2 separate regions of the Homo sapiens genome follow, and region 1 is linked to region 2. The links are contacts of gene promoters, found by promoter capture Hi-C in human tissues and cell types (Jung and others, 2019). All regions are on one chromosome and are shown on one strand. Each heading gives the region's core, a stretch centred on a gene start or on the middle of the fragment in contact. The rest is flanking DNA. Distances are from core to core; before and after follow the strand shown.

Evidence for each region. The method cuts DNA at HindIII sites, captures the fragments that hold promoters and counts their contacts. A contact is called where the count stands out against the background at its distance.
Region 1: a contact is called between a fragment that was not itself captured here and the fragment with the promoter of CDHR1 in region 2, in 1 of the 25 tissues and cell types used here (lymphoblastoid cells).

What each region holds. Positions count from the first base shown.
Region 1 is chr10:83,990,517-83,993,216 of GRCh38, forward strand. It overlaps LOC105378399 (a long non-coding RNA gene), which reads right to left. Exons shown (of 4, transcript XR_946148.2): 2 at 2,229-2,381. Among named protein-coding and RNA genes, the nearest start is that of GHITM, 150 kb to the right of the region's middle. The HindIII fragment of the contact is 6,900 bases long and covers 1-2,700 here.
Region 2 is chr10:84,193,133-84,195,832 of GRCh38, forward strand. CDHR1 (cadherin related family member 1) reads left to right here and starts at 1,405. Exons shown (of 17, transcript NM_033100.4): 1 at 1,405-1,683; 2 at 2,362-2,457. The coding sequence starts at 1,629. RefSeq lists silencers at 1,301-1,430, 1,501-1,620. The HindIII fragment of the contact is 10,516 bases long and covers 1-2,700 here.

The DNA of each region.
Region 1 (2,700 bases), core at 62-2,561, 200 kb before region 2:
CCTTTTATGCTTAAAGAAGATCTTGTCGATTCCTTTTCCATGGAACTGAAAGAACCCTAACTATTCAGGGTCATCTGATCAAAGCAGGTCTGGAGCTTCCTAGTGGTCTAGTTTCAGAAATACAACATGAATCCTGGGGAGGTTTGAGGACTGAATAATGAACACATCCTCCAGTTTTTCCCCTCCCAAGTGCCAGTGATCTCTTCTTTCAATTTGAAAGAAACCGAAAAACTATTCTAAAGTAAGTCTCAGGCAAGAATCGGAAGAGCCAGAAATCTATGTTCTTAGCTGAAGAGCTCAGAGGGCTGAAGCAGAAGGATGGCTTGAGCCCAGGAGTCTGAGGCTATAGCGTGCTGTAATCGTGCCTGTGAATAGCCACTGCATGCCAGCCTGAGCAACACGGCAAACCCTATCCCTTAAAAAAATAATAAAAATAGGCCCAACGTGGTGGCTCATGCCTGTAATCCCAACACTTTGGGAGGCCAAGGCAGGCAGATCACCTGAGGTCAGGAGTTCAAGACCAGCCTGGCCAACATGGTGAAACCCCCTCTCTACAGAAATACAAAAATTACCCGGGCATGACGCAGGTGCCTGTAATCCCAGCTACTCGGGAGGCTGAGGCAGGAGAATCGCCTGGACCCAGGAAGCAGAGGTTGCAGTGAGCCGAGATCACGCCATTGCACTCCAGCCTGGGTGACAGAGCAAGACTCCGTCTCAAAAAAAAAAAATAATAATAATAATAATAATAGCCACACATAGTGGCCTACACCTGTTATCTCAGCTACTTGGGGGACTGAAGTACGAGGATTGCTTGAGCCCATGAGTTTGAGACCAGTCTGGGAAACACAGGAAGACCCCAACTCAAAAAAAAAAAAAATTTAGGCCAGGCATGGTGGCTCACACCTAAAAATCCCAGCACTTTAGGTGGCCAAAGCAGGAGGATCCCTTGATGCCATGAATTCAAGGCCAGCCTGAGCAACATAGCAAGTCCCCATCTCTACCAAAAAAAAAAAAATTAGAGCAAAAATATAGACATAAAGCAAGAACGTTCATGTGGGGCCACACAACAGCATGGGGTTTAAGGCCTAACAATAAGATTCAATATTAATTGCTGCCTTGATACATGGCAAAACTGGGAGGGCCTGGAATGTCCTAACCACAAGTTCTCCTCTTCCTTCACACCATGGATAAGAATCCCTTGGCCGGGCACAGTGGCTTACGCCTGTAATCCCAGCACTTTGGGAGGCCGAGACAGGCAATCACGAGGTCAGGAGTTCGAGACCAGCCTGGCCAACATGGCAAAACCCCGTCTCCTACTAAAAATACAAAAATTAGCCAAGCGTGGTGGTGTGCACCTATAATCCCAGCTACTCAGGGGGCTGAGGCAGGAGAATCACTTGAACCTGTGAGGCGGAGTTTGCAGTGAGTCAAGATCACACCACTGTACTCCAGCCTGGGCAACAGAGCAAGATTCCATCTCAGAAAACAAAAAAACAAAAAACAAACAACAAAAAAAAAGAATCCCTTGCCAAAAGACCCTTATCACCAAATGGACCAGGTGCAGCTCCTCCTTATCCCTGCGTGGGTAGTCTTAGTTCCCTCCCAGCCCATAAAACATTTCAGACAAACTAACCACTTCCCCTGTGGGAAGCAGGAGTCCCCCTATCCTCTTGATACCACAGAGCCTGCCTCCCACAGCCTCTGTTCCCAAGTTCAACTCCGTTGTGGCCCTGTGTGGCACAGTGTCTTTCTCCCCAGGCCATGAGTGTGTGTGATAAATAAACTAGTCTCAACCTCATCTGTCCAGTGCTGGGCTGTTTGTCATGTGTTTGACTATCCCTATAACCCTAGGATTGTTCCCCCGTGGGATGAATGGGAAGCAATTCAAACACAGCAGCACAGAGATGGGCCAGAGGAGGGCCTGTGTAGGTAACATGCACTTACACAGACAGGAGTAAGAGCCTTCTCTGCAAGGAACACCCCACCCCCACCCCACCACCCCAGGCTCCCAAGGACGTGGGAAAATTCACTCTGAGAGCAATGGGGCATGCCTGAAGCCGCTTGCCAGTTATAGCACCACCTGCTGGGGTCTTGTGCAAAGTGATCTATTGAGAATGGCAAGGTCCAGCCATCAAATGGTTACTAGACCATTAACTTCAGCATAACCTATATAGAAGAAATGATCGCCAACCTACGCAGAGGTTCTCATGTTAACATTCAATACTTACTTATTGAAAAGGTTTTTTAAAATGCTCAGCCAAATGAGAGCAGGCAAACTGTTTTTCTTCTAATTACAGCCACGTGCATCTTTTTCTTAGTTAATTTTCTCAGCTCTGATGATTGTCTTCAGTGGGTTCTTGACTCAATCTAAGTGAGTTCATCTGTAAAACAGGGATGATAATAGCACCTACTATACGGGGCTACAATAATAGCTGCATAGCACTTAGAGCAGCTTCAATACACACAAGATCTTAGTAAGAATTAGAGAAACATTTTTTTTTTCTTTTAAGTGGAACCTTGACTGTTCCTGACCTTTGAGAATGTCTACTCAGTGAAACCTCCACAGAGGTACAATCCATCCAGGAAGACAAGGATAACTCAAATGAATTGATGAGAGAACAAGACTACATAATGCATGATCGAAAGTGTTAAAATGTGCAGAACTGACAATCTTTCCAAACAGACAAGGGGGAGAAAAAG
Region 2 (2,700 bases), core at 155-2,654:
CTACTCCAGGAAACCTTGGCTCTGCCTCTGGCTCCTGGGAAATCCACGGCAAGACTCAGTCTCCACATCCCTATATGGGACTTGCAGAATACTTGCCTTAGCTTTGTCCCAGCACTTTGGGAGGCAGATTCAGAACATCTGTGCAATTTAAAGTGTGTCTTTTCAGCAAAAGAGCCAAGCCTAAGGAGACTCAACAAGGGTTTCGGCCAATTAGGCCTGAAAACTGCTGCACATTCTAAAACCATTGATTCATCTTCCTTCTTCTCTGCAAATCCCTGACCCTTGCTCACAGTAGATCATGTAGGGCTAGACCAAGGGATGGGGGGTGCTCTGTTCCCTCAAAGGCCCCTGGCAGGGGGAGGGGGGGAATGCTGAGTCCTCAGCTGTGGAGACCTCTCCCAGGAGCACACAGAGGAGGGATCTCCTCTATCTGAGAACACATCCACCCAAGGGCATCCTGGGAAGTGGCCTGGCTTGGGCTTGAAGTGACCTGTACCCCCATAAATGGCCCAACCAGGAAAAGGAAAACAGGCTGCATTTCCAAGCACCCTCCAGTGTCAGAGCAGGAGAACGAGGAAGCCCAAGGAGCTTTACCAGCAGCCAAAAAGGTTCCTGGGCTTACCTGTGTCTTCAAGTTATCAGCATCCAGGACCCCAATAGCAGTGCCTTGCTTTGTGTAAATACCCTCTAGGAATGAGATCTCGTGCCTCTCGGGCAGTTCAGATCTATCTTGGCCAGCTCTGTGCAAGTCTGTCCTAAGATGGGGCTTAACTCTGCCTTCAGGCCCTTCACTCTTCCTTGGAAGGTTTGAAGAGTGGGTCAGCTGCCCCTTCATGGTCCCAGACTGGGCACTGACTGGGAATGGGGAGCAGAACTGCCTCTCACCCTGGTGGACACCTGAGGGTCCTCCCTGCTGCCCACCACACAGATCAGACCCTTTGGGAGAGGTGGTCCAGCCTGGGGAACAGGGCAGGAATGGGTTGAGATCACAGAGAGGGGGTCCTGATAACCCCTTACCATCTGCTGCCCATCCATCACCCTTTCTCTTTGCCTTTGGTCTCACGCGGCTTATAGAACCTGCTTAGACTGCTAAGGCAAGGCCCTCTCGGCCGCTCCACTAACTTTTCTTCTGGAATGCTTAGCTCAGAGAAGACAGCTAAGCCCCTGAAAGTCACAGAGGAAGTTGATGAGAAAAGAAAACTGCGAAGCCCAAGCCCCACCAGGACTTAAGTACCCTGGGAAAGCCTCAGGACAACTTGGGGGAAAGACACTCCTGTCCCCCATGGTGTCCTCCTGTCCAGGACTGGGGGCCGCCGGCAAAGGGGGCGTGGCGGGCGGGGAGTCCTCTTGTCACGCCCTCCTGCCCCCGCCCGCGGCTGGGAGCCTGTCGCTCCGCTCTGCGCCGCTAATTGGTCTCGTCAGGCGGCCGGCAGGAGCAGATCCGAGCCGTGTCATCCTCTTAGCGCCCTCACGCCACCCGCCGCTCCCGCCCCGTGCCCCCTCCCGCCGCGGCTGCAGTCGCCGCTACCCCCATTGTGGTCTCTGCCCTCCCCGCGGGCCCAGGGCATGCTCCGTGCCCCTGCGCCCGGTCTCGGCGGCGGCAGGCGACACTCCGCGCCGGCGGAGACATGAGGCGCTGCCGGTGGGCCGCCCTGGCCCTGGGGCTGCTGCGCCTCTGCTTGGGTGAGTGGCCGCTGGGCCGCGCTGGCCGCGTGGATGGCGAGGGAGATGGGCGCTGGCGTCACCCAGGTGGCCAGAGGGACATGGTCCTGGACCACTTCCAGAGTGGGACTCGGGCTGGTGGACGGGAGCGGAGAAGTCCTTCCATCTTCCTGGCCCATTCGGTAGTGGGGAGTGGGGTAGCGGAGTAGTGGGGAGCTCCGGGGCGCTTCTCCAGAGCTGGCATCCTAGGGCCCCAGGGTTTGGCGCCCGGACCCCCGCTGCTCTCCGCTTGCTGGGAACCAGAGCTGTAGGCTTGGTGGCAGCTCCGATGCTGCGTGGGGCAGGAGATAGTGCCCTGACTCGCGGCTTGACCTTGGCTGGGCTGGGGCACTGCCCCTCTCCGAGCGCGGGTGCAATCTGCCCATTGATGAAGGAGGGGTTGGATTGCTACCTGGGTTCTAAGCGCCCACATGCTACGTGTCCCTGACAAGCCCGAGCCCACCGGGGGCGGAGTGGGGGTCAGGGGCATCCTCTGGGCGGCGCCCCAGTGGGGTCCCTCGGTGCACTTGGGTTGGGGAGGCGGAGCGCCCTCCTGCCCAGTAGCTGGGCCTGACGCGGGACCGCGCTGGTGCGAAGCTCCCTCCTGGTGTCTGGGTGTCCTTTGCCTGGGTGTCCGTCTGTTCTGTGTTCTTTTTCCAGCTCAGGCCAACTTCGCCCCGCACTTCTTCGACAACGGGGTCGGCAGCACCAACGGAAACATGGCTCTGTTCAGCCTCCCAGAGGACACCCCTGTAGGTGAGTAGCCCTGGCACCTGCTCCCGATAGGTCTCCCTGAGGGGTGCAGGCAGACTTAGAACACAAAGTGCCCCAGGCACCACCCAAGTTGCTGCGCGCGCCCGGGGGCTCCTTGTTTGCTCTCCGAATTCCCCTGGGCAATGGCAGGAAAGAAGGTCATTGCTGCCATGGCGACTTAAGTCTGGCCAGTCCTGGAGACCAGGGCTCCCCCCCACAGACAGGGTCGCCCCGCGAGGCAGGCAG